Linked DNA regions of Homo sapiens: region 1 is linked to region 2. Evidence: promoter capture Hi-C in human tissues and cell types (Jung and others, 2019). All regions are on one chromosome and are shown on one strand. The core of a region is centred on a gene start or on the middle of the fragment in contact, and the rest is flanking DNA. Distances in the headings are between cores, read along the strand shown. Region 1 holds the start of NDUFV3 (NADH:ubiquinone oxidoreductase subunit V3). Region 2 holds the start of RSPH1 (radial spoke head component 1).

The links. Contacts are between HindIII fragments. The study calls those that stand out against the background at their distance.
Region 1: a contact is called between a fragment that was not itself captured here and the fragment with the promoter of RSPH1 in region 2, in 1 of the 25 tissues and cell types used here (dorsolateral prefrontal cortex).

What each region holds. Positions count from the first base shown.
Region 1 is chr21:42,892,136-42,898,951 of GRCh38, forward strand. It overlaps NDUFV3 (NADH:ubiquinone oxidoreductase subunit V3), which reads left to right and starts at 1,174. Exons shown (of 4, transcript NM_021075.4): 1 at 1,174-1,246; 2 at 4,792-4,912. The coding sequence starts at 1,199. It also overlaps a transcript of WDR4 not described here. RefSeq lists silencers at 661-960, 1,301-1,550. The HindIII fragment of the contact is 5,741 bases long and covers 2,348-6,816 here.
Region 2 is chr21:42,494,808-42,501,924 of GRCh38, forward strand. It overlaps RSPH1 (radial spoke head component 1), which reads right to left and starts at 1,417. Exons shown (of 9, transcript NM_080860.4): 1 at 1,326-1,417. The coding sequence starts at 1,379. It overlaps RSPH1-DT (RSPH1 divergent transcript), which reads left to right and starts at 1,732. Exons shown (of 3, transcript NR_135518.1): 1 at 1,732-1,858; 2 at 2,016-2,126; 3 at 2,426-2,636. It also overlaps a transcript of SLC37A1 not described here. RefSeq lists silencers at 1,374-1,493, 1,524-1,763 and an enhancer at 4,499-4,999. The HindIII fragment of the contact is 9,831 bases long and covers 1-7,117 here.

The DNA of each region.
Region 1 (6,816 bases), core at 3,968-6,467, 400 kb after region 2:
CCCAGCTACTCGGGAGGCTGAGGCAAGAGAATGGCGTGAACCCGGGAGGCGGAGCTTGCAATGAGCCAAGATGGCGCCACTGCACGCCAGCCTGGGCTACAGAGCAAGACTCCGTCTCAAAAAAAAAAAAAAAATTTAAACAAAAAAAAAATCTTTTGGCATTTTTTTTTCTCCCTTTAGGGACAAAGGATCCCTTCTCATGATTATCCTAAGATCTAAGGTTATTCTTTTTGCCTCCCAGGGTGGATGGTGGCAGATGCCCTTGCATTTACTTGATAGCAGACTCCTCTTTGATAAAGGCCTTTGATAAAGGCCTCATTCCGCCAGTTTATCTTGCCACCTCAATGAATCGCTAGCTGTGTCAGGAATCCCTACACAATCCATTTAAATGACTGTGGCAGGGCCTCTTCCCCTGTGGAAGCTGAAGGTGGCACGTCCATCTCCGATGAAATGCGAATGGGGCTCTGGGCACGCGGCGGAAGGCAGAGAAGAGGCAGAGAAAGAAGCTAATAACTAATTACACCGACTCCACAATTACGACTAACGTTGGGGACGAACTCTTTGCTAAATAAACATTTAGGTGAAACAAAGCTTCCATTTCCAATCGGCCTAACTCTGGTATTAGCGTTGGCAGGGGCCATGCAGGAGGGGCAGTGAGCAGTGGTGGCCGCGTTGCCGACAGAGGGTGAGGGAGCTGGGCGCGTGGTGTGGGCGCCGAGGTCCCGAGCTGAAGAGCTTTAAAACCTCTCAAAACACAGAACTATCAATCAAGTAGGACCAGACTGTGCCCCCAGGGAAGGTCGCAGATTTAAGGCTGCGAGGACAAGGGCAAAGAAGTGCGAAGCGTTCGGGTGGACATGCAAGCCGGCCCAGCGCAGACGCCTGAGAGGGGTGCCCAGCAGCCCCCGCAGGTCTCCGCCGCGCCCCCGCCACAGCGCCCAGGCGCCCGCAGGGCACAGGGATCGGCACCAGCCGGTGACGTGTCCCTCACGCTGCTGCCTGTGATTGGTGGTCCCGATCCGGGGCGTGGCCCCAAGGGAGGCACTTAGCCCTACTGGGGATGCGCGCGCAGACCCACGGCCTCTGCTCCGCCCCCAGCTGGCCTGTAATTGGCGCAGTCGGCCCAAGGGGCGGCTGTTCAGGCGCGGGTGCGCGCGCAGCTGCTGTGGCCCTGCTTGGTGCGCCCGCTGTCACCGCCATGGCTGCCCCGTGTTTGCTGCGGCAAGGACGAGCCGGGGCGCTGAAGGTAAAGGAGGAGCCAGCCTGGGCTGGCTGCGCGGCCCCGAGCCTACGTAGGGGATGGGGTGAGGGGGCGCGGTGCTGGTCAGGTCCGGGCCTGTCCGCGACCTCTAGCCGTCCTAGTTGGGCCGCTGACCCCGCTCCCTGGGCCCAGGACTGACCGCCACGGGGCCAGGCCCGGATGTGGCCAGCGAGCGTCCCGCGGTTCCCCCGAGCCGGTCCGCCGCCGCCGCTGCCCGAGGCCCAGGCCGAGGCTGGCGTGCCCCGTGCCGACGGGCGCTCCCGAGGGCTGCATGCCTGGGCGGCAGACTCGGGTGGACGTTCCCAGGTGATGCTGCCGCGCGGCTGGGGTCAGCCGCTGTGCGGCTCCCGCACGGCTTCTCTGAAGGACAGTGACTTCTCCATTTAGCCAAGAGAGGAAATGAGGGAACTTTCAGGGACCTGGTTAACTTGGTAACTTACTGACAGCCGTTGAGAAGCCAGCTGACATGACCTGACCTGTGAAAAGGAGAAGAAGGGCTTTCTTTTCGGCAAATAAAAAGCTAAGGCCAAGGCCGGGCGCGGACACTTTGGGATTTTGCCTGTAATCCCAGTACTTTGGAAGGCCGAGCCAGGCGGATCGCTTGAGTTCAGGAGTTCGAGACTAGCCTGGCCAACATGTCGAAACCCCGTCTCTAAAAAATACAAAAAATTAGTCTGGCGTGGTGGTGCATTCCTGTAATCCCAGCTACTCGGGAGGCTGAGGTGGGAGGATCCCATGAACCCGGGACGCGGAGGTTGCAGTGAGCCGAGATCATACCACTGCACTCCAGCCTGGGGGACAGAATAAATAAATAAATAAAATAAGGCTAAGACCACTTCACTCTCTTACAAATTTTAAAATGGCTGTTATTACAAAAGCAGTAACTATTCCCTGCAGAATATATATGCGTGTGTGTATATATATATATAAATACATATTATATATATTATATATAAATATATATTATATATATATTTATATAATATGTAAATATATATTATATATTTATATAATATATAATATATTATATAAATATATATTATATAATATATATAATATGTTTATATAAATATATATTATATATTTATATATTTATATAATATATAATATATATTTATATATTATATATAATATATATCATAATATAATATATAATATATATATATTTTTTTTTGAGACAGAGCCTCACTCTGTTGCCCAGGCCCAGGCTGGAGTGCAATGGCACCATCTCAACTCCCTGCAACTTCTGCCCCCTGGGATTAAGCGACTCTCGTGCCTCAGCCTGCAGAATAATTTAAAAGTACAGATAGGGAAATTCATTGACAGTCTACCATTACTCCTTCAAGCATCTAGTTCCTAACGATTTCTATCAGCTTTTATATGTTCACATAAGCACATGTACTCATGCTTACAATCATGAACATACACGTTTTCATGTTTATATGTGCACATACAGGCACCTCTGTTCTGTATCCAGCATCTAGAACATTGTACTGTCTAGCACTTAATAGGCCTTAGTGAGTATATGCTGAGTGAGTTGGCATAATATAAAATATCACATTTATATTGTAGACACTTTTGAAGCAGTTTTTATATACCTACATCATTTTAGTGGCCAGATAGTATTTCTTCTACTCTATTTTCTAAGGATAAGAAAACATTTTACAGAAAGAAACATAGGGCCTGGCAGGTGGCTCATGCCTGTAATCCCAGTACTTTGGGAGGCCAAGACAGGTGGATCATTTGAGGTCAGGCATTCGAGACCAACATGGTGAAACCCCATCTCTACTAAAAATACAAGAAGAGCCAAGCGCGGTAGCTCACACCTGTAATGCCAGTACTTTGAGAAGCCAAGGTGGGTGGATAACCTGAGGCCAGGAACTCGAGACCAACCTGATCAACATGGTGAAACCCCGTCTCTACTAAATACAAAAACTTGGCCGGGCATGGTGATGCATGCCTGTAATCCCAGCTACTTGGGTGGCTGAGACAGGAGAATTGCTTGAACCCACGAGGCGGAGATTGTAGTGAGCCGAGGTTGCGCCACTGTGCTCCAGCCAGGGTGACAGAGCAAGACTCCATCTCAAAAAACAAAATACAAAAACATTAGCCAGGTGCGGTGGTGCACACCTGTAATTCCAGCTACTTGGGAGGCTGAGGCAAGAGAATCGCTGGAACCCAGGAGGCGGAGGTTGCAGTGAGCCAAGATTGAGCCACTGCACTCCAGCCTGGGAGTCAGAGTGAGACCCTGTCTCCAAAAAAAAAAAAAAGAAAAGAAAAAAGAAGAAACGTGGTATTTTGTAGGTTAATAAATAATTGGAGACTACAAAAAAAATGCACTGGAGAACGTCTGGTTGAAGTTTTATTAAACCAAATATTAATAGTGATTGTCCTTGAACTCGGGTGTTTTCTTCTTGCAGCCTTTTTGTATTTTACAAAATGTCCATAATATACATACATTATGAAAACTGTAATAACCATTAGAAGTATACCATGTGAATGTTTTGCACTTACATGTAGTGGTAATATGTAATATTCATATGCACGGTACCTACATGCACACAATCCCAGCACTTTGGTTGTTTTTCTTTTTTTTTTTTTTTTCCTGAGACAGTCTCACTCTGTTGTCCAGGCTGGAGTGCAGTGGCGTGATCTCAGCTCACTGCAACCTCCACCTCCTGAGTCTAAGCAATTCTCCTGCCTCAGCCTCTGCAGTACCTGGAACTACAGGCATGCACCACCGTGCCTGGCTAAATTTTTTTTTTTTTTTTTTTTTTTGCGACAGAGTCTTGCTCTGTCGCCCAGGCTAGAGTGCAGTGGCACGATCTTGGCTCACTGCAAGCTTCACCTCCTGGGTCCACGCCATTCTCCTGCCTCAGCCTCCCAAGTAGCTGGGACTACAGGCACCCGCCACCATGCCCGGCTAATTTTTTGTATTTTTAGTAGAGACGGGGTTTCACCGTGTTAGCCAGGATAGTCTCGATCTCCTGACCTCATGATCCACACGCCTCGGCCTCCCAAAGTGCTAGGATTACAGTCGCACCGCGCCCGGCCTTTTTTTTGTATTTTTAGTAGAGACGGGGTTGTCCAGGCTGGTCTCAGAACTCCTGACCTCAAGTGATCCGCCCACCTCAGCCTCCCAAAGTGCTGGGATTATAGGTGTAAGCCACCGCACCTGGCCAATCCCAGCACTTCAGGAGGCCGGGGCTTCAGGATCGCTTGAGGCCAGGAGTTTGAGGAAGCCAGGAGTTTGAGACCAACCTGGGCCACGTAGCCAGATCTCGTCTCTATAAAAAATAAAAAATATTAGCCAGGCATGGTAGTATGTGCCTGTAGTCCTGGCTATGTCAGAGTATCGCTTGGACCCAGGAGTTGAAGGCTGCAGTGAGCCATGATTGTGCCACTGCACTCCAGCCTGGACGACTGAGAGAGACCCCTGACTCAAAAAATATATATATATATTCATATATAGTACCAGCTATTATAATGGCATTACTCTAAACATCCATATTCATTAATTCTTTTGTCAGACTATGCTCCAGGAAGCCCAGGTGTTTCGAGGACTTGCTTCTACGGTTTCTTTGTCTGCGGAATCAGGGAAGAGTGAAAAGGGTCAGCCACAGAATTCCAAGAAGCAAAGTCCACCAAAAAGTAAGATTTTGATGGTAGTCATAAGGGAAAGAGAATGCAAAAAGAAAATAGATTAGTCAGCCTTCGAAGCACGACAGTGAGTTTTACTAGCTACGTAATTTATGCTTCTTCCTTTTCAGCAGTGTCCAGATTATACAAGACACAAGATCTATAACAGATTTTAGACCAAACATTTCAGTCATGTCGTAGTCTTTGACTGAATATTTAGCCCTGAAATGGTTTTTCCTGTATTTTCTAAATGCCAAACCCCAACCTGAAGTGAGTGATGCCTTGGTAAAGGCTCTGTGGCATTTAGATGGCCCCGGCACAGTGAGCTTGCCAGAAAGCCACCTTACTTTCCATCCTCTGATGCTGAGTTGTTTGTTTTGTTTTGTTTTGTTTTGTTTTGTTTTGTTTCAGTCTCTTTGAGACCCATCTGTGGTTTTCCAGGCTTTGCTTAATCCCAGTCCAGGACTAGCTGGGACTACAGGCATGTGCCACCACGTCTGGCTAATTTTTTGTATTTTTAGTAGAGACAGGGTTTCACAATGTTAGCCAGGATGGTCTCAATCTCCTGACCTTGTTATCCACCCGCCTCGGCCTCCCAAAGTGTTGGGATTACAGGCGTGAGCCACTGCGCCCGGCCTAAATCTTTAATTCTTTTTTTTGAGATGGAGTCCTGCTCTGTTGCCCCTGCTGGAGTGCAGTGGCGCAATCTCGGCTCACTACAACCTCCGCCTCCTGGGTTCACACCATTCTCCTGCCTCGGCCTCCTGAGTAGCTGGGACTACAGGCGCCCACCACCATGCCCAGCTAATTTTTTACATTTTTAGTAGAGGTGGGGTTTCACCATGTTAGCCGGGATGGTCTTGATCTCCTGACCTTGTGATCCGCCCGCCTTGGCCTCCCAGAGTGCTGGAATTACAGGCGTGAGCCACCGTGCCCAGTCCTAAATCTTTAATCATTATATGGGGTTGTAGAATAGTAATTGAGTTTGGTCTTATTTTCATCAATATACTATTTCCTCAGTTTGAATGTTTGAAAGTATTTAGATTCTTTTGTTTTCTTCCTCCTTGGTCTGTGCACAGAACACTGGTAAGTTTTTAAATATTTGTATTTATACAAAGAGAGTGCCAGCCCCTGACTGCCTCTCACAGTGTGTGGACTTGAGGCTTGGATTCCACGGGAATGTTATTTAGTTTTGTGCTATGACTCCTGCCTCGTTTTTCAATCATTGTTTTTTTCTCTTCTTCCTTTTATGTTATTTGTTTTAAGAGAGGGGCTCTGGCTCTCTCTCCCAGGCTGGAGTGCAGTGGCACAGTCATAGCTCACTACAGCCTCAAACTCCTGAGCTCAAGCAATCCTCCCACCTCAGCCTCCTGAGTAGCTGAGACTACAGGCACATACCACCACTCCTGGCATATCCCTGGCATGTTTTGTTGATGTTGTTGTTTATTTTTTGAAATAGAGTCTTGCTCTGTCACCCAGGCTGTAGTACAGAGGCACAATCATAGGTCACTGCAGCCTCGACCTTCCAAGCTCAAGTGATCCTCCCACCTCAGCCCCTGGAGTAGCCAGGACTACAGGTGCACACCATCACACCCTGGCTAATATTTTAATTTTCCATACAGATGAAGTCTCACTGTATTGCCTAGACTGGTCTTGAATTCCTGGGCTCAAGCAATCTCCCTGCCTCAAACTCCCATAGTATTGGGATTACAGGTGTGAGCCACTGTGTCCAGCCTACCTGGCATGTTTTTGACATTCTCTAAATGTTTACTGATGAACAATTAGTTGAATTTCATTGCTAACATTATCCTCTCCTTTGGTGAATTTTAGTCTGTGTCTGCAATCCTACATCATAGACTTATGAATTTGGATTAAATGGATTTTAAAATATCATGGCAGAGCCAAAGAGCCCCCTT
Region 2 (7,117 bases), core at 167-2,666:
TCCTGCCTCAGCCTCCCGAGTAGCTGGGATTACAGGTGCCCGCCACCATGCCCGGCTAATTTTTTGTATTTTAGTAGAGACAGGGTTTCACCGTGTTGCCCAGGCTGGTCTCAAACTCCTGAGCTCAGGCAATCTGCCCACCTCGGCCTCCCAAAGTGCTGGGATTACAGGTGTGAGCCACCGCGCCTGGCCTGATTTTTTTAAGTGCTCTCCTGGGAGAAAGTAGTAAAGAGGGCAGGGAAGTAGACATGAAAGGGCAGGCAGCTAAGGAAGGATGCCTTTGCAGGTGAAGTCCCAGACTTGGCCTAATCCAACAGGGACTCTGGGGGCATCAATCGCACTGCAGACTTTGTCCTGCTTCTTGCACTAGCTACTGGCTGTCTGGCCGGATGTGAATTTCAGGCACTTCTGGCTCTCCATACTGGGCAGGTAGTTCCAGCGCACAGAGGTGATAGCTTGAGTAGCAAATCAGGCGGAAGCTGGGAGATGAGTGCCCAGAGCTAGCAAAAAGGTCTGGGCAGGCACTGACAGCACCACTGCAGAGTCGCTAGATTTTTCAGTTAATTCTGAAAGTACCTCAACTCTGTACTGTGCATGCAGACCATAGTGGCTGAGGTTCCCTATCTGTCAGCCATGGAGAGGTCACTCTCTGGAGTAGGGAGGAACTACTCTCTGGGTGATAGAAATATTCCCACACAGAACCCAGCTCACAGGCTGGATGTGCCCTCTTTCTCCTCTCTGCTGCCTAACTCAGGAAATAACTCCAAAGACCTGGGTCAGTTCAGATGGGGACTGAAGAAAGCACATGTGAGGATACGCCTATAAGGTAATATCTTCAGGAACCCTCTCCTGAGCCCAGGGCCTCCTCAGCATTTCTTGGAGGCTGCCAGGAAGCAACTATCCTCCATGCATCTAAATGCCGGGGGAGCAAATCTCAGCTACAGAAATGACTTATTCAAGGGCAGTATGGCAGCGTGGGATGATCTGCTCATCCGAGAAAACTGCCTCGATGGGAATTAACACAGGGAGGAGGAAACTTCCAAAGCCTTCCGCTGGGAAATCTTTGCCTTTAATGGGAGGCAGGATGGGGGTGGGGGAAGAACGAGGCGGCATGTGGTAACCAGACGTCACAGCGTTTCACTTTTCACCATCAACTTCCAGGACGCACGCAGGTGTGTCTGGCGTGGCCTTCGTCCCTGCCGGGGATCCTGGGGAGCTGTGGCTCAGACCTCTGGTTTCTGCGCCTCCTCACTCTCCAAACCCAACCTCGAGGTTCCCCCGCCGCTGCGCACCCTGGGAAGCCCTTTCTCACCAGGAGCTCTCACCCCAATATCATTCTCTCCCTCCTCCTCCAACTCCTCCGAGCCCAGGTCCGACATGGTCTCGCCCCAGCCTGGATCACAGCCGCAGCGCCTCTAGCAGGTGGGTAGCAACCGCCTCCACCGCCGCGTCCCGCGTCGCCATGGAGACGCGGCCGGTCCCGCCTCCCTCCCAGCCCGGAAGATGGGGAGCGGGGACAGGCGACGCGGACGAAGCGGGAGGAGCCACTGGCAGCCTTTGCGTACTGTCATAGCAACGGGAAGGGCACCTCGACCAATCACCGCCCGGGAATACGGAGGGGCGGGGCGGAAGGGACGAGGTGGAGCCAGTGGCAGCACTCTGGTGCCGTCATAGCAACGAGGGGCCGCTTCGGCCAATCACTGCTCGGGAAGCGAGGGGGCGGGGACTGGGCAGGGCCTGAGCGGGTTCTGTGCCTGGCTGCCCACCGGCTCTCTGACCTGGACCTCGCCGTCGCTGGCCCCTGAAATCCATCACTTTTGTCGGCTGTTCTGTGACGCCACAACGAGGAGCCACCTGGGTACTGGGCCCTCAAGAGGAAGGACGCGGGAAACGCGTCCGGGCCAACTCTCGAGAGGGTTTCACCCCTGCCCAGTGCGGGCACTGCCCGCTCCCTTCCGCCCCCAGGCCTCGCAGGCCCCTCCGGGGATGCTGCCCACCCCCACTTACCTTTCTAGGCTCTGCTGACCCTTCGGGATTCGCGGCTAGCTGTGATGTGTCCGCCAAGATCTCTTCTCTTGTCTGTAAACAACTTCACTCTCAAGGAGGCAGCTCTGGCCTCTCAGCAGGTGCGGCCTACAGTGATGTCCGTCCGGGTTTTACATCCTTCCCCGACCTCGACATGAGTCCCAGCCCCCTCGGGCCTCTGACTCTCAGGTGTCCCCTACGATCGCCGTCCTCTCCTCTCGCTCCTGGCTCCCCTACACTGTCACACACCCACACAATCACAGACGCACACGCATGTACACGTGCAGGCTTGGAAATCTGCTTTACCTGACGCACTCCGCCTGCCGAAGGCCCCTCACATCTCCCATTTCCTCTGCCATCATCCCAGACTGCAAAGCTGTGTTATTTGTTGTTGCTGCAGGAGCTGGGGAGGAGTGACTGAATAACTATAGGATTTGGTCTTGATGGGAGAATCCCAGAAGCCAAATCCACGCGGTGAATAAGCTGCTGATCTTCCAGAGCACACATCCCCTAGAGATTCTTCCCAATGCTAATATGAAAGGTTACAACCATAACCCATCATCAGGCCCAAATATATTACTTACTGAATAAATACACAAGTTACAACAACACACGAGATTCCAAAATTATGTCGTTTTTTAGATGCAAAGATAAAAATGTTGTAAACACCAAAATTTAACAGCTTTTCTTATGGGGAAAAGTGGGGAGTTAGGGATAACAGATGATTATTATTTTCTTCTCTACATATTGGCAGTTACCCAGTTACTACAATTAAGCATGTCCTATTTTTATAATAAAATGCCAGAAGCATTTTAAATGTTAGAAATCTAGAATGGTAACATAAGTATATGCAAATAAATACTCGTTTTTTACATTTAAAATGTCAGAAATTTAGCTTTCAAATTTGTCCTAACAATGACAGTAACCAGTGTTTACTAAGTTCTGACACTGTGTGTGGGCACTGTTTTAAGAATTTTATGAGTTATCTTATTAAATCCTCACTATCATTCCTCCATTGAACATCTAAGGAAAGGGAGTTATAGGGGGTTATAAACTAAAAATAACCTCCTAAGCCCCACCACAGCCAACTGAATGGACCCCTCTTGGCCAAGAGGGCCCCAGAAACCTTAAAAACTGCGTTCTCAGCCATGATGGGAAGGGAGGTCGAACATGCCTCACTAATACCCTTGTGCAGTTTAGACACAACAACTAACAAGCATTAATGTTAAAATAGAGATCATAAGACTGACAGAATGGACGCTGTGGCAGTAAGATACCAACTTACAAACAGGACCTAAGGCCATGCCAGGCATGAGTTAAGTCATGCATCCCTACACTTAAAAGAATAAACTATATTTTAACTACCTGGAGAAGGTCTTATGACTCGTGTTTTACATCCTGTACTTGAGCAAACAATCTTACTGTGAATCTCTCAAATCGTATCATGAGTTCCTCAGACTGTTGATGTACTAATTAATACGTAAACTACTGACACTGAAAAGGATACTGATTTGTTTCTGAATCATGACGTTTCACTGATTGTCTTGTGCATATGCAGAAAACATTTTAGCCTGTATGTTGTCATCTGTAGCCAATGACTGTAACCTCTATATTGTCCCTCCAATGAAAAAAGACAACTGCAATATGAGGAGTCCCCTTCCCATTCCTCAACTTTCTTATAAAAGCACTGCAACTTGTAACAGACTTTGGAACACACCCAACTTTGTTGGTGTGTCTTCCCCATTCAATCTTCAAATTTGGCTTTCAATAAGCCTTTATCAATTTCCGCCTCAACAGCCTTAACTTTGGTCGACAGCAGTTAAGATCCTTACCCAAGATCATACAGCTAGTGGGATTCAAATCAAGCCAGCTGACCCAAGAGCAACTGTTGCCCATCACTATACTGCCTCCCAGATCTGTGATATAAAGAAATAACTATAGTTTTCTGGCAGTGACTAAACCATCTACCAAGCAGAGGACCACTAGTTCAAATGCCTTGGATTGCAAACACCAGAGAGTGGCTTAAGCAAACCACATGGTTAAGCAAACCCTGTTCTGGATCACATCATTAGCAGCTAGACGTCTAGCTATAGCTATTAAATCCTAAGGTTTACAATTTGATTTCTATCCCATACGAATTAGCCAGGGTCTTCCCTCCCAAATCTTTCAGTCAATCTATAGTAATTTCACCACACTGTGGGTTTGGCAATTATCCAAATAATTGACACCAAAGGCAAGAAGGGGTGAACAACAGGATGGGCCTCCCGGCATCTCCTGCAGCAGCACCTGGACTGGATTCTAAATTCCTCCTTCCAGAAAGAAGCTGCATCCCAGCCCAGATCCAGCTGAGAGCCACAGCTGCCAAGAGGCAGTCGGAGCTCTGGGCACCTCTCTGTGCACCCAGGAAGCCCCAGGAGGACTTCATCAAGCCAAGTCGATGCCTCACTCAGAGCCCCAGGATCCCTGACTCCTAACCCCACAGTGACCTGGAAATGCCTGGTGATGCCAGAAGCAGCGCTTTCCAATTCTGAAGGCCCTCAAAATGCTTGTTCAGCCCACCTTCCTCCTTTCCTGGGGCGTGGGAGTGGTGGGGAGATGAGAGGCAGAAAGATGAGGACATCATCAGGAGGTTTTTCCTTACTGGAAAATGAGAGGAAATCCTCTTTCACTACTTAAAAATCAAAAGGGGCTGTCCATATTCCTCTGGCAGGGGTCTCCCATCATCCCCCGCGAGGCATTCCCATTATCCCCTGCGGAGCTTTCCCATCATCCACAGAGGCCCTTCCCATAACCCCCAAGTGGGAAGTTCGCGCAAGTGCGGCTCTGCAGGGAGGAGGGAGGGCCGAGGGGAAGGCCCTCGAGAGAGTGGAGGGCAACAGTGGCCACGGTTCCTCTGTACTTCGTTTCTTCCGTAAGAAATGATCTTCTTGTCCTTCTTAAGTATAAATGGAGCGATCCATTTCCTTTTACCCATTAACCCCTTCAAAAAGAAGAAAAACAGTCCCAGGCTGGCCATGGTTGATCTCTGCAGGGGCGCTGGTCAGGGTGCCTTCTGCTTCCTGGTGGGATGGCCTAGGCCGGGGAAACTGTTGAAACCACCCTGGGGCTGCCTTCTGTATTTTCCACAACCTTCCAGGCCCACCTCCCAGCTGGAGGCCCTGCAGCTTGGCAGTTGCCATGGCGACTGAGTCCCTAAGTGTGTCTCTTCTGAGCTCTCCTGGACAGTGTGGAGAAAAGGCCTTAAGAACTGAGGGGCTTCAGTAAAATGCAAACAGATTTTTTTTTTGTAGGCACTGTTCAGATAAAAAGCAGGGACTTTCAACAAAATGAGTTCAGGTCCATCTTAACTATAGAACTATGAGGTTGTTTATTAGAATAATTGTACTCTGGTAAATTTACCAATTTCATATATATGCATATTTATAAACAAACATATTAGAGTATATAGATAGAAAAAGTTCTATCTACATGTAGAATCGAAAACTTTTTAAAATAGTGTTGGTAGTATCACACATTGCCATTTAGTGGATAGAGACAGACCCGAGATTGGAGCCCTAGCTCCGTATACTTCTTTCTGAAGTCAGTCTACTCATCTGTAAAATGGGCTGTTGTGAGGTCAAAATTAGATATTCATAATGAGAGTAGCATAGTGCCTAGCACAAAGTAAAGCACTTAGTAAATGGGAGCTATTACTATTAATTGTACTGCTGTTAATCTTACAATAGGTTAAGCACCTTTTGTCTATCAGTATGTTTGGGGGGGAATTTTAACTCAAGTTTATCTTAATCGTTTTCAGTCGTGTTTTTTTCTTGAAAAGAATCAAACTGCCAAAGATGATTCTGTCAGTTGTTTGTGACAATCAGAAGTTAGTCTGTGACGAACAGATTAGTTTTAATGCTCATATTCATTAGCACTAATATACATAAGGGTGGGGAGAGACTGAAGCTTCTGGAAATATATAGACAGGTAGATTCTTAAGCGTAAGTAGGTATTTGAACTGTTTGTGGATTATGTCTCATAAAATTGGCACCCAGCAAGGAGGAAAATGCCAGATACACACACGCCCATACCTGAGGTATGTAGGTCAATGGAAGGCTATTGAAACACAGTTGTCAAGAGAGAAATGTAAAGTATTTTTCACCCAGGAAGTGAGATTATTCAGTGATGCATCAAAACCAGTAGGGAAAACAGTTTAGTGGACACCAGTGTGGAGACGAGATGTCAGAAAATTGGATAGACTCGAATTTCACGTTGGGTAGCAACTCAAGGACATAGCTCAGTGCTTGGCACATAGTAAGTGCTCAACCAACACAGGTTTATCAAATTAAATGTTAGATATTATTTTGCAACAGAGCTGTGCTTTATGCAGCAGTAGGAAAAGAGAAAAATTGACGTGAAATTTTTTCTTTTTCTTGTTTTTTTATTCTTAAATCACACTCCATTTTCCGAGGGCTCTCTCAGGATATCAGTTGCTTAACTACGTCTGAGTGTCTTCTAGGTCGAGTACTAGGGGATTACAAGGAAATGAGAAAGAAATTACAGACCCATTGGGGGGCAAATTCTACATTAATCTACACTGTTAAAAAAATTTACCAGGGCCGGGAGCGGTGGCTCACGCCTGTAATCCCAGCACTTTGGGAGGCCAAGGTGGGTGGATTGCCTGAGCTCAGGAGTTCAAGACCAGCTTGGCCAACATGGTGAAACCCTGTCTCTACTAAAAATACAAAAAATTAGCTGGGCATGGTGGCGGGCGCCTGTAATCCCAGCCACTCAGGAGGTTGAGGCAGGAGAATCGCTTGAACCCGGGAGGCAGAGGTTGCAGTGAGCCGAGATTGCACCATTGCACTCTGGCCTGGGCGACAAGAGACAAGAGTGAAACTCTATCTCAAAAAACAAAAACAAAAACAAAACTATTATGCCTTCTGGCTACATGTTAATCCTTCATTCCAAAGTGGAGGTCACTCTTTCCTACTGGTGGATATGTAAGGCTGGTTCTAGTTTTGATGCTGCAGATAGCCTCACTCTAACCAGCAGTTGTGGTGGGAGATCCTGTGCTACATGGGGCTGTACTTTTCAAGGTCTAAGGGTGGAT